Linked DNA regions of Homo sapiens: all the other regions are linked to region 3. Evidence: promoter capture Hi-C in human tissues and cell types (Jung and others, 2019). All regions are on one chromosome and are shown on one strand. The core of a region is centred on a gene start or on the middle of the fragment in contact, and the rest is flanking DNA. Distances in the headings are between cores, read along the strand shown.

Region 1 (3,517 bases), core at 225-2,724, 300 kb after region 3:
GTGATGCCTCCAGATTCGTTGTTTTTGCTTAGTCTTGCTTTGGCTATGTGGGCTCTTTTTTGGTTCCATATAAATTTTAGGATTGTTTTTCTAGCTCTGGAAGAATGATGGTGGTATTTTGATGGGAATTGCATTGAATTTGTAGATTGCTTTTGGTAGTATGGTCATTTTTACAATATTGATTTGACCTGCATGCATGTGCTTCCATGCAGTGGACATTTAAATTTGTTTTGCTGTTTTTTAAAGCTTGGTTTCTTGCCTGGTAAAATGGAGACAATTAAGTCTATTCCCAAGGTTTTTGTGAATATTAAAAATAAATTTTGGTAATTTTTATTATTGAATTAAATTGAAAAGGGATATAGAAGAAATATCAAATATAGTCCCTACTTAGTATCTTGACCTGAAATTAAATGGGAGCTGATCCCGTATTTCTGTACATTTTATTTATATAAAATAAATAATTTTATAATATTCACATTGTTAGTACTCAATAAAGTTTAATATTTTAGAAAATGCAAGATGAAAGACATTCTATTCATTTAATATCTTTTAAAGGAATCACAAATGCTTTTTAAAAACATTTTAACAGGTGCCAAAGAAGAAAATACATTACAGTTTTATATACATCTACTAATTATGTGCATTAACTTTTTCAATGACAAGTTTAATCTGTCAATCATGGGATGATTAGAAATAAGGTTTTACTGATGTGCAGTCTCTCCATGTATAACCATGGTAGTTTTATATATTTTTACAACATTTAGCCATCATTGTACCAATTCTCAAATAAATATCAGATGATTTAGACTGGAAGATGCCGTTGCTTGAGTGGTGGTGGGGGGCCAGGGAAATCAATTTCAAAAAGCAAAAAAAAAAGCATCAATTTTAGCCATGGTTTTACCCACTGACACACAATGAGGAAATAAATCACAGGAAAAGGAATAGAGCAAACTGTTGCTCATCTTCTAGGAAACAGACTCAAGTGGGTAAAGTGATTTGCCAAAGGCCGCATAGCAAGCAAGTAAGCAGTACCAGGTTTTGGAATTGGTTCTTCATATTCCATGACTTTTCCACAGTGTCACTGCATAAATGGTCTCTCTACTTCTCATTTCCAAATAATTTATCAGCTTAGCCATCCCACTCCACTATTCCGCTCACCTCTCTCTCTATCTGTGACAGCTATTTTTCCAAAGCCATTAATTACCTTCTAATTTTCAAATCCAATTACACTGATACAATCTTTTTTTTTTTGTTTGCTCTTTAGCATTCTACCATGCACTACTCCATCCTCCCTGAAACTTTTTTTTCCTTAACCTTGATTGTAAACAAAATGACCTATCCGGTTTTTCAAATCAGAAACCTGGCAGCATCACTGTTATTAATGACCCCTCTTCTAACTTTCTCTTTCAAATACACACAAACACACACACACACACACACACACACACACACACACACACACAGCACTGTTTGTTGGGTCAAATATGTCTTCTAAATATCCTTCTATTCCCCTGTTCTTTATCTCAACTGTCTCTGCCTTTGTAGTCTCTCTCTTGAATGAAATCTGTTGCAACAACCCCCTACATGTCTAATTTGTTTCTAAGCCACCTATCTTTCTCCATGCTCCCAACCACTCCATTCTTCAATAGACCTCAAAACATGACTCCATGGAAGACACAAGCAAAAGGAGAAAGGTGTGTGCTATAGTTTGGATATTTGACCCTCTAAACCGCATGTTAAAATTTGATCCCCAGTGTTGGAGATGAGGCTTAAGAGGAGGCGTTTGGGTCGTGGGAATACATACCTCATGAACAGATTAATACTCCCCACCAGGGGGAAAGAGGACTGAATTATCACTCTATTAGTTCTCCCAGGAGCTAGTTGTTAAAAAGAGCCTGGCACCTCCTCCTCTCTCTTGCTTCCTCTTTTGCAATGCGATCTTTCCACATACTGGCTCCATTTTCCCTTTCACCATGAGTGGAAGCAGCCTCAAACTCTCATCAAAGCCAGATGTTGGTGTCATGCTTGTACAGCCTGCAGAACCAGAAGCCAAACAAACTTTTTTTTTCTTTATAAATTACCCATTCTTAAGTATTCTTTTATAGCAACACAGATGGACTAAGGCAATGTGCTATTATATGGCAGAATTTCCAACACATCTTTAATGGATCAACAGCCCTTAGAAAGGATCTGTAATTCTAGAGGCACCATTTTATCTGCTGGACCTTCCCCCAACTCCCCCCAACTTCTCTCCCTCAAGTCCTTTATATTCTGCCAGGAGATCCAAAGAGAGGAAAGTTATGAGCCCAGAGAGCTATAGGGAAGATATGAAAGTGAGATGTGGGTTACGGATGCACCACAGGATGGTGGAAATAGCACTGGGCTTGAGTTATATCTCAACCCCTTCCTAACCATGTGGTTTTTGGCTTGTCCCTGAATTTCAGTTTTAAAATAGTGTTATAATTAAGAATACCTGCCTCTGAAGTTGTAATGAAGTTTGAAATAAATATTAAATGTAATTAATGTAAGAGCATTTTGTCATTCCCATATATATTACATAAACATTAGTTATTTTATTATCAGGTTATAAATTGAAGGAAATTTGAAAACTATAGATAAAGAAAAGAACTGGGTGTGCTAGCTCATGCCTGTAATCCCAGCACTTTGGGAGGTCAAGGCGGGCAGATCACCTGAGGTCAGGAGTTCCAGACCAGTCTGGCCAACATGGTGAAACCCTGTCTCTACTAAAAATACAAAAATTAGCCAGGCGTGGTGGTGCATGCCTGTAATCCCAGCTACTGGGAAGGCTGAGGCAGGAGAATCACTTGAACCTGGGAGGCAGAGGTTGCAGTGAGCCAAGAATGCGCCATTGCACTCCAGCGTGAGCGACAGAGTGAGGCTCCATCTCAAACAAACAAACAAACAAAAACAAAACAAAAAACCGAAAAGAAAACAGTGGTGGTAACATAAGTGAGATGCGTAAAGATATAATGCGAGATGCGGTAGAAATTGAGTAATCCCAGTGGTTTCAGTCAAATTGAGAGAAATTACTGCCTACAGTTTACAAGTTTAGACTGTACTGGGGTGGAATTCTAACTCTGTTGTTATTAGTTAGGTCCTTCAGACAAGTTAACAATGCTAAAAATATAATTAACAATAATATTCCCTAGCCTTTATTAGTATATGTGCTAGGCACTGTTCTAAATGTTTACATGGATTATTTCTGAGTTTCAGTTTCTTCGTGTATCAAATGGCATTAGTAATTATTGTACCTTCCTCATAAGATTACTGTCATAAGTAAATAAATTAGCATGATACTGGCCATGTAAACAGCACTAAAAACATAGCAGTCGTTATTGTTATTATTAGCTCTGAAAATACTAAGGATAAAACCAAGTGAGTGGATATATATACTTCTCTATATTCCTCCTGTTAAATACAAGCAAAAACTCCGGACATTATGTATAAAATAAACATGCGAAGGCTCAAAGGTGGGGCAAAGATAGCAGACTGGCTA
Region 2 (3,797 bases), core at 131-2,630, 460 kb after region 3:
TATATGTGAAGCTTTCTGAAGAGCCCTTGGCACATAGTACTGAGCTCAGTAATTGATAGCTGTTGTACTATTATTATTACTTACACATGGACATCCCAATCCTTGAACGTATGGTATTATTCATAAGGGCCAGCACTATTCCTAGCCAGCTCCATAAAAATGAGAGCTGTATGGTTTTCTCTTCTTAGCAGCCTGAAGCAACAAAGCATACATCTAGTCCTTGCCTTTATGGATATCCACTTGCAGGACTGGAAATTCTTGCCTGATCAATCACTGTAGAACTCAATTGTTTAAGAACTCAGAAGCTTCCAGAATAATGCTCATCTATCCTCTCTACCTTGTATGTGCTGTTCCCTGCCTTTGAGATCCTCTCTTGTCTTCTCCATTGGACCAGAAGAGGATAGAAGGTGGCCCTAAACCTTGCTTTTGTTTTTCTTATATTAGGACACAAAGTTGAGTAAGAGAGAGTCCCCTGGAAGACTTTCAGTTAAGAAGGAATGACAGTCCAGTGAACCTGTGGTTACAATAAAAGTTTAAGAGTTTTTATGGCAGTGGATAATATTTTTTAATTTATTAATGATTTTCTTCACTCTTCCTTGCATAAGGCTGTGCTCTACTAAACCAGATACACTGTTACCTCTAGGAAGATTTTGTTTTAACTAGAATGCAAAGAAAAGGCCACCATTCAGCATTTGATTTGCAACAGAGAATCATGAGGCCCATGGCAAAGCTGTGGTCATGAAAACCAGGGTTTTCTCAGAAATCAAGGTACTTCTAAAGGTAAACAACTTCTCTTTCCATATCAGGAGCAAAACTTGAAATTTGAAACATATGATTTTACTATAACCTTTAGATAGTAAAGCTTATATTATATTATATTATATTACTATGTTGTAAAGCTCTTATCTTTACTGTCTAAGTGAACCTTAGATAGTAAAGATAAACCTCCAAATTGTCTGAGTTTCAAGTAAAGCTTAGATAATAAAGACAAAAATTTTTCTTTAGAGAAATTTAAGGATTATGATTTAAGGGAAGTTGCCATCTATCCAAGGAGTAAAAATAAAGTGGAAAGGACCTCTGACTTGAGGGATAGAAATCAGACAGGGAGAGCTACAGAAGACTAGACAAGGGAGAAGATGATCATGAGTCCCTGAGTTTATCCCCAGCACAGGGGCCAGGTATATAGAGACTGGAGGGTTTTGCAGCAGCAGAAATTGCCACAAAACTCCAGGCACATTGAGACAGAACCCACAAGCATTTTTTCCATGCTAGTGCCCTGCTTTCCTAGGCTATCCAAGCTGGCCTTGGAGTGGTAGAACAACAAAGGGAAGTGTCCACAGAGACAGGCCTGCTATGGGACAACTGACTCCCATGGTGCTCATATGATGTGGAAGGAGTCCAGAAGCTCCTGAATGCCTCCGGGAATGTGGACCATGAGTGCTGGCTGGTGAACTTACTCAAGGCAACGATGGGCCAAGCTGGGGATGGAATGGAGTCACTGGGAATCTGAAGCACCGCGAGAGCCAGCGTGGGGCCTGATCAACAAGAGGTGATGGCCAAACACTTTGGATACTGTTTCAGAGCAACACGCAAACCATGTTTTCCTCTGCCCTCATACCACAACAACAATCATCAACACAGAAGAAGACTTCTGTGACCAAAGTGTGGGGGTTTTTCCCCGGGTATCCTCCAATCAGTTCTAACATTATGTACCCAGAAACAGCAACAGATATCACATATGGAGGGCTCAGTCCTACAAGTCTGCCCCCTTCTCCCACCAGCCTCAAGTCCAGGCCTCCAGAACTCCTGACCGATCAGCTTCAAGTTGGGGTTCCCATGACCCTATCTTTGGGTTTGATTTATTTATTAGAGCAGCTCATAGAACTTACAGAAACATATTTACTGGTATGTTATGAAGGATATTTTAAAGAATACAAATAAACAGCCAAATGAAGAGATACATAGGGAAGGTCTGGAAGCATGGACAACTGTGTCACAATGTGACTGTACAGAAAGGATATGACCTGAATAAACCCAGCAAGGCCTGCCTGCTCAGGGTTTTCTGGATCTCTCTGTGCAGCATTCCTTCCTGCGGAGTATGGGGTAGAACCCACTCTGGAATGAGGTTCTCATGACCCACAATCAGATGAGAGTCCTGCCTTGGGCAGGTGAAAAGAAGGCAGGAGAAGGTCAGAGAGAGAGATTCCATTTTCTGAGGCCTGTTCCTAAGGCCTAAAGTACCCCAACATTGTGACAAAAGAATATAACAAAGATTATGAGGTTTCTGAGCTAGGAACTGTATATGAAAACCTGTGTGTGTGTGTGTGTGTGTGTGTGTGTGTGTGTGTGTGTGTGTGTGTGTGTGTGTAATCATATCACAAGAGCCATCATCATGCCTCACCCATCCTGGAAGAATACAACCTGAGTGGAGTTACAACAGCCATACGCTGCTCAGTAGCAGCTTTAATGTAAATAGAGGCTGACTCCCAAAGACCAGGTGGGATGAGCTTAACTAGAGCCCCAGAAGCAAGCAAAGAAGGACAGCACATAAATTGCCCACCTCTCCCCTGCTTCCTGGATACCATTAATTCACGCAAACCTTCCCTTGCTTCCAGACTCTATCTACTCCCTAGAGAGGGCAGTTAGAACATTTGAAGTGTCAGATTATTTATCCAAAACACACAGAGTTACCTTAAAATCCAGAGCCACATAAAATCAGCCACCCAAAATTTGAAAAGTACATACTCTGGCCCATCTGCATCGTAGGTTATCAAATTTGACTCCTCTGTACTACAACTGAGTATGCACACTGCTATAGGAACTAAGAAGGTCATTTTTTTTCAGACGATGGAGTTAGAAAAGGCTTCCCACAGGAGTAACATTGGAGGTGAACTTTGAAGGGCAAGCAAGAATTATCCAGCTATGAAGAAACAGAAGTGTATTTCAAGAAATGCAAAAAACATGAGTCAAGGGACTCTGGTAAACTTAAGTACAGCTTGTTCAGGGAAAGCAAAGTTGTCCGAGAGAAGGATTGAGCTTCCATGCAAAAAGAAATCAGGTTGAACAGGAAGGCTGCAGGGCCTGCCTATGGCCGTGAGGGTTACTCCTAGGACCTCTGAGTGGTTGGAGGCTGAAAAACAGCCTTTGCCCTGCTCTCTAAGGGCCCTGTGTACTCTACAGCAGGACAGGGTACACCCTAAGGATGAGACCACCTTTTAGAATGCAAAAAGGCTTGATTCTTTAGCTGAGCCTTAAATCGCAAGGCTTCCTATGCCCAGAGGGGGTGACTTCTCAATTTTGCACAAAGTCATCGTGTAAATTAGCAGGGATTCTTTAAATATGGTCAGATTATAGAAGGCCATGCAAATTTCTTTAAAGGATTTGGGTTTTAAGTAAGAACAGTGAGGAGCCACTGCAGGGTTCTGGGCAGGGGTATGACATGGCAAAAGAAATTATTCCAGCAGCAGCTGTCTGCAAGGCAGATTGGAGCCGAGAGACTCGGGAAGTTACCACAGTTGTCCAGGCATGAAGCAAAAAGGGAAATTTTACGGTATCCATGGCAACTGAAGGGGAAAAATATGAAAATTATTTTGAAGGCAGAAACAACGAACTTGATTACTGATTGGGTATGAGTGCGTGGAAGAGGCAGCAGTAATAAATGACTCAGGGGTTTTGAGCTTAGGAAGCTATGAGAATAAACCTGAAATGGGGACGCTAATCAGGAGAGCTGCTTTGAGGGAGAAAAGAGAGTTTGGTTTAAGACATGTTGAATTTCACATAATGATGAAATGTAGAAG
Region 3 (3,736 bases), core at 1,237-3,736:
TCATGCCACTGCATGAATCAATATTAAATACCTTGGAGTTACTAAAAACTGGAATACTGGCAGAGATGTGCTCAGCAATTATAAAATACGAAAATGTGAATACTCTTTTTCCACGTTTCTTTTAATAATGGCTAGAAATGAGGATGTTCTTTCTAGGTAAACAGAAATAGTTTCCTAAAAGCTAAAGGAAAGATGTAATATCTTAAATGCTAGCAAAGTGTCATGGATCCATAGCCATAGCTCTCTCAAAAGAAAAATGAAATACATTTTGAAGCCTAATATTACCTCCAAACATTTTATTAGCCTAACAAATTGCCAGAGCCATTAAAAAATTTTTTTATCAAAGTCAATACAGTGCTCTTTTTCCTTATTCAATTAAAAAGCATAACTTGCTGTCATTTTAACCAGGCTGCACTTTAATCAAACATGTCTTAAATGACACATTTTTTCATGTCAAAGACATAACATAAATTTAAAAATTAAGAAATAAATTTTTTTGAAAGCTAAGTTCAGATGACATCTGGCCCTGCAGTGAAAGAGTTAACATCCAACTAAGCTGATCTGCACTTCTGATCCATTACATTTCTCACAAGCTACCCTACAATGAGCTGAGCAAGTATCAACTGTAATTTGATCCTAGAGTTTATGGAAAAAAATAACTGCACATACTCAACATGCACATTTAATAAAAATCTGTTTCAAGAGAAACATATCCAATAAACACAATTTAAGGCATATTTAACTGTTCAATTAACCTCAAATCTGCAATCCCTTTGCTCTCACGCTCTCAAATAAAATAGGAAGAAAAAAAAAAGCAGCAGCCCTACTGCAGGGAAAAGAGGCTTGAAAAACAACTTTGATTGGCACTTGGCCTGACCCACAGAGGAAGAAAAACAGTTTTTGGACAAAGAGCGCAAATATTTGAGCTTGCTTACTTATGTGCTTTTTTCTTTCTTCCTTTTTTAAAAAAAAATGTAGAAAGAACAATCCCAAAGTGAACCGTATTTAGAGATGTTGACTAAAAACGGTACCATATTCATCTCCGCTTTCAGTCCCGATGCATTTGCACAGCTCAGCAATTTTAATTCATTTGTAGTGAACAAACAGAAGCATCTCACCTAACGTTTCCACTTAATAAAATGTAAAAATAGAGTTTGAATACGAATAAACTGATTATAATATTACTTTGGGGCAGCTGTTAAAATCTGATCAAAAAGTCTAGAGACCTTTTTTTCATTCCCTTCCCCATCCCTCTCGCCCTTCCCCGCGGGGCGATTAAGCCAAGTAAGCTAAACAATACTGGAGTAAACTTTCTATCAGTCACTCTAGGAAGCAGCAATAAACTGATGGTGCGCCTCATTTTTCTGGATCAACACGGGGGCAGGGGGGTGCTAAGGAGGAATAACCCACATCCACCTCAGTCTTCTCCTCCCCCAACCCCAGCCTCAGGAACTGGCCAGGTCGAATTGCATTTCCCATGGGCATAAAGTTCAAGATGCTTTACTGGTTCCTTTCGAGACTGAACTACAGACACAGGACTACCATCCAAACAATTTGAAAACGGGGGTTGTTGAGCAAGGCGCGCAAGGCAGAAGCAACCGAATAAACAAAAACAACACTCGCAAGAGTTAGCCACAGCAAAGAGGGGCCAGGTTCCTCGGGATCCGACCCAGCTGCTCTGATTTCACACCGACCTCCATCAACAGCTAAACTGCACAGGGAGGAGGATCGAACGGATCCCTCCCGCCCTCCGCCCAAGGAGCCGACCCGGGGTAGCAAGGTAGGGAAATGAGCCGTAAAGGAGAGCAAAGGCACCAAATAAAAGGAACAAGGGAAGAAAAAATATCCCAACCCCTCCAGACTTGGGTCTGTCCCGGCGGAAATAAAAAGCCGCAGTAGTCCAAACCCTCCTGCCCTCAACCCACGCCCCCTTTCTCAGTCCCTGCGGAGGGACGGTGCCCGGGGATCCCTCTCAGCCTCCCCCAGTGCGCGCCCGGGGACGAGCCGCCCGAGCCCCGGCCGGCAGGAAGCGACCCTCGCCGGCAGGACCCCGGGCCGAACCCGTACCTTCCGCAGCACTTTCCGGCAGTTGGTACAGAGCAGGTAGTTGGCGGCGGCCGACGGGCTGCCGCCGCCCCGGTTCATCGTGGCTGCGGGCGCCGAGGCGAGAGCGGGCGGAGGGCCGGGTCCGGGCTGTCACTGCGGCCACTGCAGGGCCGGTCCGTCCCCCCGCCGCCAGCCGCGATTCCGCCTCAGCCTCCTCAAGGCGGGATGTCGGGAGGAGAGGCGACTGCCTGAAAGCTAGCGGCACTGCCAGAGGCGACCACCGCGGCAGCTGCCCCAGCGACGGCGGAGACGGCGGCGGCTGCTCCTCACCGGCCCGTTGTTCCACCCGCCCCCATCTTCCAGACCCCCGCCCCCGCCAGGCTAGGACGAGCAGCCGCCACCGCTGCCACCGCCACCACCGCCGCCGCAGCGCCTCAGTGCGGCCCCGCCTCCGCCGCCCCACCACCTTCACCACCTCCACGCTCCGGTACCGCCCCTCCCGCCAATCGGACAGCTCCGGCTACGCCCCCAGGGCGCTAGCCCGCAGCCAATGAGCAACGAGAGCCCGACTGGGAGTCGCGCCGGCCAATCGCAGGGGCCGAGGAAGCCTTGAATCTCCGGGCAAGTTAAGTTTATCTCCGAGGCTCGGAACTGAAGGGAGGTGGCGGTTAGCTAAGTAGTAGGGTAGCAGGGAACAGTTTGCTCTCCTCTGCCAATAAGAGGACGAGGGTGTGTCATATGCAAATATACTGCCCTCCAAGCCCCACCCCCAAGATAAGCTACGCCCCCTTCTCTAGGTCCCTGCAGAAGTGGTGAGGAGAATGAGATAAATAGTTGGGAGCTAGAGCTCGCTAGAGAGTCTAAGATTGAGCTAAATATTTCCTGATCTCTCGAGAAAGGGGGAGGGGAGTGGGAGGATTAAATGTTCCTTCCTTCAGGGCAGTGGTTAGGCTTTCTCTCCACCAAAATCTAACTTTAGCTGTAAAGAAGACTGCAGTTATGTAGTACTTTGTATCCAGGGATCTCAAAGAACTTTACGCATCATTTATTGTGAACCTTGTTTTGCAAAGATTTCAGTTACTTGAGGCTTGGGAGGCGGATAGGGGATAAATGTCTGAGTTATATATATATTTACGCAAGTAATCGAGTTTGAGGGGAGAGACACAAAACCTCTGGTTTAGCGGTTTCCTCTTGTTTGTGAAGCACCTTCTAGCAGTTATCTTAGAGATGTAAGTTCATTTACTTGTCCAGCACTAAAAGGCCAAAGGGGCTTGTTTTCTCACCCAAAAGACCTTCCTGAGGCAGCTGTTCGGATACATGCAGAGCACAGCGCCCTGCTCAGAAAGGAAGGTTCAGAGAACAAATTGTCGTTTAAAACTATTGGGACAAACCTACCTCTTCTAAAGCTTAAAATGGTAAGTCAGGGTTTTAGCGTCCACGTTCTGCGGAGAGAAGGCAGACTTGACTGGGGAAAGCGCAGGCTGACCGAGTGTGGCGGGACAGACGGGTAGGGGAGCCAGGTCTCCCGAAGGGGCTAGCAATGCGCGTCCGAGTCGAATGCGGGTTCCCGATGCTAGACGCCCGCAACCTGCTCCCGAGTGAGAACAAAGGCCGGCGCAGAGCGAGAACCTGATTGGTGCCCGGTCCTCACTCGTGTCCTCCGGGCCCCAGAGATAACTTGCATCGCCTA
Region 4 (3,612 bases), core at 795-3,294, 500 kb after region 3:
ATCATATGCTACATCCCTCCTTGCTCACTCCACATCAAGTACAATCAAGTACCCTGATTTCCTCAGCAAACACTACAGTCATATGTTTGTTTGTTTGTTTGTTTTTAATTCAGCTATAATTCACATAAAATGGGCAAATCTTAAGTGCTAAGTTTGTAGTTTTGACAGTTCTATAGGCCCATGTAACCACCATCCATTTCAAGATAGAGAACAATATTCTGTCACCTCAGGTTCTTTTCCAGTCAATTCCAATTCATCCTTATACATAACTACAATTTTAATTTCTGTTACCCTAGATTCTCTTTGCCTGTTTTTAGACTTAATACAAATGTAATCAAATAGTATATATTATTTTATGTCTAGCTTTTTCTTACTTAACATAATCTTTTTGAGATTCGTTCATGTCATAGTATGTATTCATAGTTTTTCTTTTCTTTCAATTAATGACTAGTATTCCATGGTATGAATATATTACAGTTCATTTACCCATGGGGCTAATATGAACAAAGATGCTATGAACATAGTGTACAAGTTTTCGTGTAGACATACGTTTTTATTTCTCTTGGGTAAATACCAAGGATTGAGATTATTGGGCACGGGCTAAATGCATGTTTAACTTTATAAAGAAACTGTGCCTTCTGCTCTTTGCATTTGCTGTTCCCCTTACCTGGAATGTTCTTCCTCTAGGTATCTCATGGATAACTCCTTGGCTTTCTTGTCTTTGCCAAAAGTCACCTTCTCAATGAGCTCTACCCTATGTAATCCAACTCCATCCTCCACCTCAACCCTAGCACTCTCACTATTTCCAGATTTTCTCATAGCACTTTTCACCCTTTGGCATGCTATATAATAATGAATTATTATTTATTGATTTTTTTCTCCCACCAGAATGAAGGAAAAAGCTTTTTTTAAAAAATCTCTGCTGTGCATTAATAAGTCAACATTGCCTAGAACAGTGCCTGACACTTAAGTAGAAAGTCATAAATAATTGCTAAATGGAAGGAAAGAAGGAAAAAAGGAAGAAAGGAAGGAAGGAAGGGAGGGAGGGAGGGAAGGAGGGAAGGAGGGAAGGAGGGAGGGAGGGAGGGGCCAAGAGGCAATGAATGTCTGGGGTGTCTCTCAGAATGCCAGGTCATAGCTGCTCTGTGGAACTTCTCAGGTCTCCAAAGCTCCAGAGTTAGTGTCCAATTGTTCCTAGTGAATTTCAGCACTCACTCTTGTCCCAAGTGTGCTATCTGTGGGCTTTCCAACCTGTGCCTCTTTAGCACATGCAAGGTGTTCTCTTATGTAAAAAGCCTCTGTATTTTGACATGGAGTTACTAAAATATCTCTTCCATCAGAAGTTAATCTGCTTGGCTTCTGCTTTAGTGTGTCTAGATATGCCTATCTGGTCTCCCCTTGCTCCTCCTCGAAACACACACCACCCAATTATGAAGGGAGTTTCAAGCTTCTTTCCGTGTCCCATAAGCAGCACTCAAACCCAAACCCCACCCCTCCTCCATTTCCTCAGACCCTGAAGGTGTTCATATGCTCTGTTTCCAGAATTCCTCCAGCTGAATAGATTCATGGCTTGTGGTTTTGTTTTTTTTTTTTTCAAAGCATTTACTACATAGAAGTAGCTATTATTTACTACATAATCTGGCAGAAAATTCTAGAAAGCTACATTTCTTTTGCCCTCTAATACAAGCCCTCACTAATAGAACGGCAAAACTGGGATTGCTATTTACTTATTAAGTCTTCTTCCTTTGAGAAAATCAGAAAGAAGTAATGGGCATGTGTGGGGGCAGGAGCTATTTGAGAACTCACTATTCTTTCCACTCAGTTTTGCTGTGACCTTGAAACTACTCTAAAAAAAAGATAAGTTTATTAATAAAAAAAAAAAAAAGGAGTCACGATAGCTCTGCCTTAAAGATAACAGTGAATTCATGTTAAAATCACTGCCCATACATTTTCCTACTGGTCCACTAAAGTAAATGTGAACTCATTCAGAGTTTAAGCCAATTCTCTCATCAAGTAAGTCAATGTTTATTACAGTTTAACAGTGCTGCTTGTCTCAGCAGTCTTAAAGTGATTATATCAGTGCCTGTTTTGGTCAGGGTATAGCCAGGAAAATGCAATTTACTTTAAGTATTTACAACGGAGGATACATAATACAGGAAGTTGGTTCCACAGATGATAAAGGAGCCGAGAAGCCAAATGAAACGGTGAGAGGAAACCCTTAGCAACACCAGGGAACCACTCCTCTCCCTGGGCTGCCTAGATAAAGGGAGACAGCAAAGTTACTAGAGTCCAGGTGTCAGGGTTACTCAGCAGAAGCCAGTTTCAAGGCAGGCCTGTCAGACAGGAGCTAGTGCCATGGAAAATATACAACCTAGCCAGAGATAACACCAAAAATATATAATTAAAGAGAAATTCCCTGGTACCTTCATTTCTGTCACCGCTCAGTCTGCTGCAGGTCTTCCCACTGGCCACACACAGTCTGAAGCCCACTGACACATAAGCCTGGGAAACAGCCTACAGGTATCAGCCCTTCAAGCAGGGGAACAGCAAGGAATAGATCTGAGGCAGCAATCAGCACTGTGGCAAACTAGAATAAACACACAGAGCAGAATTTGAAAAACGTTCAAAAATTTCTATCAGAGTAGATGATTCTCTGTATGGTGCTATTTCAGAACATTTCAAAATACATGTATTAGCATAAGGAAAGGTTAATGGCTTATGCTCTATTAGGTTCAGAGAGAGAAAGAAAGAGAGAGAGAGAGAGAAAGGAAGGAAGGAAAGAAGGAGGGAAGGAAGGAAGGTAGAAAGGAAGGAAGGAAGGAAGGAAAAGAGAGAAAGAGAAAGAAAGAAAGAGGGAGGAAGGGAAGAAGGGAGGAAGGGAGGGAAGAAGGCAGGAAGGGAGGAAGGAAGGTAGGAGAGAAAGGAAAGAAAGAAAGAAAGAAAGAAAGAAAGAAAGAAAGAAAGAAAGAAAGAAAGAAGAAAGAAAAAAGAAAGAAGATTAATTTACTTAATGGTAAACATTATTAAAATAAATATTCAAGCAAAGCTTGAAAAAGGGAGTCTTGTTTAATTCCATCCCACCACAATCCTATTCTCTCACCCTCCTATGGCACAGAGATTAGTGGTAGTGAAGTGGAGAAAGGAGGTTAGAAGTTTCCATGTTATTTCTGGCTATTTCAGTTGCAGCATAGAAAAAAAAAAAAAACACTAACAGTAATAGTTCAGATCTTATCTTGATACTAATCTTGATGATTTGTGTATTTTTAAAGACATGAAACCTGTAAATATAATTGGGAGGTAAAGTTTCTTTTTCTTCTATTTGACATCATAAAGTTATTTTAACAAAAAGAAAATTTAGTCTAAAAAAAGATTGTGCTCCTAAATTCAAGTGTTCGTCTACTTCTTAAGTCTATAATTTACTAGGCACAATGTTGTGACAAGACTAACAATTAGATCATTGTTGCATAAGCGCTATGATAACTTCATGGGCAGTAGAGAGTGCCCAGGGTTTTGGTTCTAAGACATGAGTCTTAGTACCACCGGGAGTACTTTTCTGGCTGTGTATCTTTGGACAAACAACTTGACGACTCTGAGCCTCCAGTCATTTTAAAT
Region 5 (3,886 bases), core at 778-3,277, 480 kb after region 3:
AGAAAGTTTTAGAACAATCAAGGCCAGCTGTGAAAAATCCGCTCATGGTTTGGCTTCCAACAGACAGCAGCTTTTCTGTGAAAAGTAACAGCTCCTTTTCCTTAGCTAAAACCTGAAAAGTCTGTGCTCTCTGTAAAATCCAAATTGGCCAATGAGTTTGAAAGAATATTGATACTGAAACCACCAACACAGAGAAAGCAGAAATGTCCCTTTTAGCAGCAATGTGGCACATAAAGACTGGACGTAAAGGTATATAATTCAGCATACTTATTATTTCCAGAGGGCTAAGGGCACTTAAGTTCAGTAAGCTCCATGGTCCTAATAGCCTAATATTGTGTATTTCTCATGCCTGATTCAAAATCACAAAACTCACCAGCTCATTTTGTTACTGAGAAAAAACGAGTTATGACTTAGAAGGGACCATGAAGGAAAACTAAGGCAACCTGTATAAAGCACAACAGAATATTAAGTGTGCATGTCACTTGGCTGGGACACCAGAGTATCACAGGCAAAGGGGTAGAGTTGTGGTGGATGCTGAAAATGGCTGGGTAGAGACCCTCAAGGGAGACTAGAGATAACTGTGGCTAGAAGACAAAAAGACCTGTGGGTAGGAGGTAGTGAAAGTGATTAAATCCTCCTCCTGAAGCATATTAGGGAGCAGTTGAGTCATGGGTATCAGAATGAGCCCAAGCAAAATGGTTCCTGTAATATTAAGCCATTACAGGCAAGCAAGGTCAAGGACGCTCACAAGAGGAGAAATACAGAGATGTGACAGAGAGATTTCCAGCTTCACATAGTAACGCCCGAATTGATGTTTTATCCTAATTAAAGCTTAATATAACTCTGTGGTAAGAGTTTCTTGCCCCATATATTCTGAGATATACTTCTGAACAAAGGAAATGTGCCGACTGAGAAATATTCCATGAAACTAATTGCTTGATAAATGTGTGCAAAAACACATAACACAGAGATATTAAACAGGAAAGCTGGGAGAAGTTCTGTGCTAAAGTCAATAGAATAAAATCAAACCAAAATGGTAGAGTGTGGGATAATGCAAAGAATGTCAATTATACAATTCCATTGTATAATACCACCATATAACTAGGTTCTATAAGTCCACACACACACCTAGGGAGGTAGTCTTATTTACCTCTTTCAACTTTTATGTTCTGACTAATACGTATTAGAGTCAATATTGGTATGTTGATTCCATATGACTTGTTGATTAGGGATCAGATGAGAAGATTATTCTAATACTGAAATACTCCTTTTTCACCTATGACTTAATCACCTAACTAAAGTTTACTGTGTTCTTTGGGAATCCAAAGTGGGTGGTGGGAAAATGGAATTGTCCCTGGCATCTTTCCCAAACTACACATACCCACCCATCCATAGATGCTGATGGGCCCTTAAGGGAAACCTCCCACCTTCCCACCCCTCCAGAGGCACAGTGCTGCTGACAGACACAAATTATCAGGTGCACTGAGTGAGGAAAAAATGTTAGAACCATCAGCAAAATAGGAAAAACCACTGGACTACAGTCTGATGGAACTGGAATTGAATTTGGGTTCTCACCCATACTAGCTCTTTGTTTCAGACAGTTACTTAACCTCTCTGCTCCATTTCCTCATCTTCAAGGAAAGGGGGGACAATAAGAGCTAATTCCCAAGTTTAAACATTAAATAAGATGATTTATGTGATAAAGATATTAAATGTTTGTAAAATTTGAATAATATTGTGCCATTCATAACTATCTATGTTATTTTAGCAAACAAATATGTCAGATTCCACCCACTGTTTTTATTTTATTTCCCCTTATTTTCATTTATATCACCTTCCACTGGTTTGTACTAAAAGGATTTCCTGGACTGTATGTTTTTAATGTTTGTAGAAAGAAAGCTCTCAAAGGAAAGACTCTTTCCTCTATATCCAATGGAATCATTGGCACAAAATTTAGGAAGTTAAGAAGAAATAACATTCTTACAGTTATTTGATTCAACATGGAAATTTCTTTTAGGATGAACTTTTTGCTGATGTCATTGGCTCGGAGTAAAACTGCCAAATATAAAGATATGATTCCAGCATTAATAGAGCAAAACTGTGAAACTGTACCAACCAACCTGAATTGTATTCTCATTAGTGCTGTCAATTAATGAAGTTAGACAAACGATTTTCCCACATTACAATGTAGTCTACTCAAAAGCCTAAGGAATGCCACCTGCCCATCAAAAATGAATAAATGTGACGTAATTCCATTGTATAATACCACCATATAACTAGGTTCTGTAAGTCCACATACACACCTAGGGAGGTAGTCTTATTTACCTCTTTCAACTTTATATTCTGACTAATATGTATTAGAGTCAATATTGGTATGTTGATTCCATATGGCTTGTTGATTGGGGAATCAGATGAGAAGATTATTCTAATACTGAAATACTCCTTTTTCACCTAATGGTTTAATCACCTAATTAAAGTTTACTGTGTTCTTTGGGAATCCAAAGTGACCATTGGTGAACCTGACAAAAAAAATTCATCTTCTTAGAATTTTGTGATGTAATTAATATTTATTTTGGAACCCTCAGCACCCCAGAGAAGAGTTAGGTATAGAAAGAAACTCTAAAAAGCATATAAGTGCCCCAGAAGATTTTCCCCTTCCTCCCTGTCACATACCTCTTTGCCTCAACCCACTTAAATTCTGAGAAAAAAATCAATACAGTTAAATGAATGTAAGTATGGGTTTATCATTGTCTCTTTAAGTAGAATTATGTCCACGTTTTACAAGTTCCATTTCTTTAGGTGTCAAAAACTAGTTTTATTTAGCTGAGGTTGAGAATATTGGGCAGAGTCAAGGTGAGCATCTAGTGAAAAGCTTTGGAAACACTCCAGGTATAAAGCTGAAGACATTAATCACCAGAATAACAAATGAAATTGAACTGTTCTAGAATTGGGCTCCTTCACCTCATTTTCCACTTCTTCTTCCAGTGTGGTCATCAGGATTCAATCCTGGTCCTATGCTGTCCATAAGATAATACCAAAGGGAGCAGACACTCAACATTTACTTCTTTTTATCTCGACTCTAATCAAGAAAATATGACAATATTTCTGATATCTCTTCTCAAAAAACTTTTTTTTTACTCTAAGTTCTGGGATACATGTGCAGAATGTGCAGGTTTGTTACATAGGTATACATGTGCCATGGTGGTTTGCTGCACCTGTCAACGCATCATCTAGGTTTTAAGCCCCGTATGCATTAGGTATTTGTTCTAATGCTCTCCGTTCCCTTGCCCACTACTGCCTGACAGCCCCAGTGTGTGATGTTCCCCTCTCAGTGTCCATGTGTTCTCGTTTTTCAACTCTCACTTATGAGTGAGAAGATGCAGTGTTTGGTTTTCTGTTCCTGCGCTAGTTTGCTGAGAATACCTGAAAGCTTTGAAAAATCAGATTATCATTAAGAAATAATTCTTAAACTCAAAAATTTTGCCCAAAGAACTTCCTTCTCTGGAGACCTGAAAGAACAAATTAAATACTCATCATAAATATCCAAGTGCAAAACTACCAGTTTTGCATTTATAAAACTACCAGTTTGCACATGAGGAAACTAAGATTCAGGAAGTGTAAATGATTTACCCCGGCATGAAGCTAGTTAATAGAAGAGCAGGTTGCTCCTTACTCTTACTATCTTACTTTTTTGTTAATCATTTATACACAAATCCTGAGTACCTACCATATCCATGGCACTAAGGGCTGTGAAGGGAACAAATCCAAAACATTCATGGTTCCTCCTCCCAATATTATTATTAGATACTTTAAACATTACAATAATGATAACCACTATACATCAAATACTCATTACGGGGGAGAAACTGGGTCAATATCATGGTCG
Region 6 (3,690 bases), core at 43-2,542, 370 kb after region 3:
TATTCCTCTTAGCAGACATAGTCTCTAAATATTGATTGATTTATTAAGAGATTATATCCTTTATTCAAATTATATCCCAGTTTACCTGGCACAGAGAGGGCACCTGTCTTGGTCCATTTGGGCTGCTTTAACAAAATACCATCAACTATGTGGCTTAGAAACAACAGGAATTTATTTCTCACAGTTCTGGATGCTAGAAGTCTGAAATCAGGGTGCCAATGAGGTTGAGTTCTGATGAGGGTTGTCTTCCAGATTTGACTGCCTATTTCTTGCTGTGTCCTCACATGGTGGAGATAGTGAAGGGTCTCATTCTGGCTCTTTCATAAAGACACTCACGCCGTTCATGAGGGCTTTGCCTCCATGACCTAACAACCTCCCAAAGCTCCCACCTCCTAATACTACTATCATGAGGGTTAGGATTTCAACGTATAAATTTTGGTGGGACACAAACATTCAGACCATATCAACAGTCAGCACATAACTTATCAAATGTTTGTAGAGTAAAAACAAATAATAAAGTATTATTTTCAGCGTATCATTATTATGGATATCCACTACATTTTTAAGGATCAAAACAGCTTCTGAACAATGTGAATTCTCCTACAGTCTTTAGTCAACAATAACCACAAATATTTCCCTTCTTTAAGGAGATTTGAGGATGAGGTCCTCACATTACCTTCTCAATGAATATTGAGTGGAGCAAAGGAGGTCTTCTTTACAAGATAAACCTTATTTTGGAAATAATATTCTTACAAGAACAACATTTTTGTATCTGGAGAAGAAGCTTTGGTAATAAGATACAAGGTATGTTCAGATAATCAGATAATCTCTGAGGTCTTTTTTAGGGAAAGATGGGTCTTTGCTAAGAATAACACTATCCTGATGACAATGCAGCTTCTAAAAGGTGAGTTTAAGCTTGAGGGTGTTCCACATTGATTTTGTAAACACTGATAGAAGCATTCATATTCTGAACAAATAAATTACATTTATACAGAATAAAGAGGGACTGATAAAATCAAATCACAAAACCCAGTTGTCTTTTTTGGAGGGATGGGTGGGGGGAATAAGCATATACATTACAGAGAAGTATGATGTGGGGCTAGGAAGGAAGGAATAAAGTAAGGATGGTAAAACATTTTGACCTTGGGAATTCCTTCAAATTAATTGGTATTTTTATCAAACTAATATCTGCACATAAGAGCAAAATTTTAAAAATACTCAAAGACATAATAAAAGATAGCATAATAATAAAATAATTCATAATAAACACAATAAACATAATAAAAAAGAGCTCTAGCCCTCTTCACCTTCAAGAGGCAATCACTTTCACCTTTTCCAGCTTTTTTTAAACCTGGTATTGACCCTCACATTTCTAAGCAATATGCTTAAATGGCTGCATTTTTACTTCCACCAAATTCTTCTTTTAAAAAAAAAAACTGTATATTTCTAATAGAAAATAAATGCAGATGTACAAAATCTAGAGCAAAAGTTTGGAAATGAACTAAACATTTAGTCTAGTTCGACTAGTTAAACAAACTCTATGACTAGTTCGTTTCCATCTTTTGCTCTCACAAAAACACATTGCAATCAATATTCTTATGTATATATTACTGCACATATATTCAAATATATCAGTAGGATATATTTTTGAAAATAGAATTTGTGTCAAATATCATGTGCATTTTATATTTAATAATTGCTGTCAAATTGTCATCCACTGAGGTTATATCAATTACAATTCCATTAGAAATATTAGAACAATTTTTTCTCTACAATCTTGTCTACAGATTGTTATCACATTTTTTGATAATGGTCAATTGTCAAAGTGTTATCTTGGGTTTAATTTATATTTCTCCTACTATCTGAAAAGTTTAGCATACTTTCATATGCTTAGAAATCATTTATAGTTATTTTTGAACTATTTATTCATAAATTTGATTCTTTATGAGGATTTTTAGCTTTCCTTAAGGGAAAGAGAAATTTACACATCAGGAGAGTATCACTTTGTGATAAAAATTACAGTTTTTTTTTCTTTTTTAAGTTTTTATGTTTTTCATCTAAAAATGTTTTTAATGTAAACTTGTCATCCCTTTCTTCTAAAACTTCTACATTTTGATTCTGCTATGTATTAACTTACCAATTTTGACATTTTTTTTTTCTGACACATGGTCTCACTCCATTGCCCAGGCTAAAGTGCAGTGGCATGGATCACAGCTCACTGCAGATTGCAACCTCAAGCTCCTGGGCTCAAGTAATCGTCCTAAAACTATGGATAATTGAAGGACCAATGAAATAGAGAATGTGGCGTTTGTTGAGAAGTGAAATATGAAAGTGTCAGTAATTTCATAAAATCCATACAGCACAAGTGACATATGCTTAAGATGAGCCCTCATGACTTACTTATTGCTTACTTTTTTTAGTCTCTTTCCTAGATTAGTAAATAAAGAAAATGATTCTCACTTTCAAGATTAGCAGGAGATTTAGAACTAATGTGTATTAGTTTCTTCACCCAAAGGAGGCACTGAAAAATAATAGCTAATTCTTTTTGAATATTGGTAATGTTCTCTGAAAACACTCAGCTCGTTGCACACACTGAAGCAAGTCACAATTACTGCTAAATTATAACAATCAATGAGAAGTCTAACATGTTGCCCATGTTTCTCACACCACCATATTTTTTCCTTATTATCTCTCAGATGTTTTAACTCCCATGTTTTGATTTTATCTGTCATTTTTTTCTTGCATGCCTCTACTTTGGAGTACGTTTCTCCTTACTTTGAGTTGCTATTTCTCTGAGGGGCACCCCACTTGCCTCTACTTTTATATGTCATCCAGAAAAAATAGCTCACTGATAACAGTTATATTTTGGGTTTAAAAATAATCTTAAAATATAGAAGCTTTGCTCCCAAAGCCAGGACTGTTGGGAAAATTTCCTTTATAGTGTTCCTTTGGTGGGCATAGTCTGTCTTGAAATTCTGAAGGATACATAAATCCCTTTAGGCTTAAAGGAAATGGCTGGTCCTTAAATTCTTAATTAACCCTAAAAGGATCAATTTAATGTGGAGAAAACATCACACATTTCTCCAGGCATGCTTTTGCAGAGGCATTGGCAGCCCTAGAGGTTGTCCAATGACATAATCTCATATATGTCCAAGCAATACTTCTACACATGAATGTGGCAAAGAGGATTTTTCTTTCAGAATAAAATACAGTATAAATGTTATCCTTTATTCACTAAAACCAATATTTGCAAAGGAGTTGAAGACTTTATTTCTAAGCTTCCAAAATATTTAGATACAATGGTGAAATCTACTTAGACAATGACTGGTTCACTAAGCTAGTTTTTCTCTTCTCTACTTTGTAAAATTATCATATTTTAAGGTCTTTCTTATAAAGTAACTTTGCCAATTAACCCCAGGGAATTACACATTCCCACCTATGTTATCAGAGAACTTTTTTTCTCTGCTGTGGTATCTATGTTCATAGAGGTTTGCATAGTAACTCAGAGGAAGTGTGTGTGGTCCCTGTATAGTCTTTTCATGATGTACCAGAATCTTGGCTCATCCATCTACCAGTCAGAGACAGGTTTACTATGAAGCTAGCAAATCTCAGCCCTCATGTTCCACACACTTGCATAGGTCCCATTCAAGATGCTGAGAGGAGCTCTAGCAAAGTGTTCAGATAGCATTT

What was found. Contacts are between HindIII fragments. The study calls those that stand out against the background at their distance.
Region 1: a fragment that was not itself captured here is called in contact with the fragment with the promoter of SESN3 in region 3 in 1 of the 25 tissues and cell types used here (heart right ventricle).
Region 2: a fragment that was not itself captured here is called in contact with the fragment with the promoter of SESN3 in region 3 in 2 of the 25 tissues and cell types used here (dorsolateral prefrontal cortex and hippocampus).
Region 4: a fragment that was not itself captured here is called in contact with the fragment with the promoter of SESN3 in region 3 in 1 of the 25 tissues and cell types used here (liver).
Region 5: a contact is called between a fragment that was not itself captured here and the fragment with the promoter of SESN3 in region 3, in 3 of the 25 tissues and cell types used here (dorsolateral prefrontal cortex, hippocampus and lymphoblastoid cells).
Region 6: a contact is called between a fragment that was not itself captured here and the fragment with the promoter of SESN3 in region 3, in 1 of the 25 tissues and cell types used here (aorta).

Annotation. Positions count from the first base shown.
Region 1 is chr11:95,529,351-95,532,867 of GRCh38, forward strand. No RefSeq gene overlaps it. Among named protein-coding and RNA genes, the nearest start is that of FAM76B, 260 kb to the right of the region's middle. The HindIII fragment of the contact is 5,707 bases long and covers 1-3,517 here.
Region 2 is chr11:95,694,661-95,698,457 of GRCh38, forward strand. No RefSeq gene overlaps it. Among named protein-coding and RNA genes, the nearest start is that of FAM76B, 93 kb to the right of the region's middle. The HindIII fragment of the contact is 3,278 bases long and covers 1-3,019 here.
Region 3 is chr11:95,228,716-95,232,451 of GRCh38, forward strand. SESN3 (sestrin 3) reads right to left here and starts at 2,487. Exons shown (of 10, transcript NM_144665.4): 1 at 2,068-2,487. The coding sequence starts at 2,145. LOC100129203 (a long non-coding RNA gene) reads left to right here and starts at 1,471. Exons shown (of 6, transcript NR_110295.2): 1 at 1,471-1,780; 2 at 2,410-2,858; 3 at 3,337-3,461. RefSeq lists silencers at 2,041-2,350, 2,361-2,510 and enhancers at 2,866-3,505, 3,506-3,736. The HindIII fragment of the contact is 13,238 bases long and covers 1-3,736 here.
Region 4 is chr11:95,731,992-95,735,603 of GRCh38, forward strand. No RefSeq gene overlaps it. Among named protein-coding and RNA genes, the nearest start is that of FAM76B, 56 kb to the right of the region's middle. The HindIII fragment of the contact is 4,246 bases long and covers 1-3,612 here.
Region 5 is chr11:95,711,392-95,715,277 of GRCh38, forward strand. No RefSeq gene overlaps it. Among named protein-coding and RNA genes, the nearest start is that of FAM76B, 76 kb to the right of the region's middle. The HindIII fragment of the contact is 3,685 bases long and covers 186-3,870 here.
Region 6 is chr11:95,601,879-95,605,568 of GRCh38, forward strand. No RefSeq gene overlaps it. Among named protein-coding and RNA genes, the nearest start is that of FAM76B, 190 kb to the right of the region's middle. The HindIII fragment of the contact is 3,589 bases long and covers 1-3,087 here.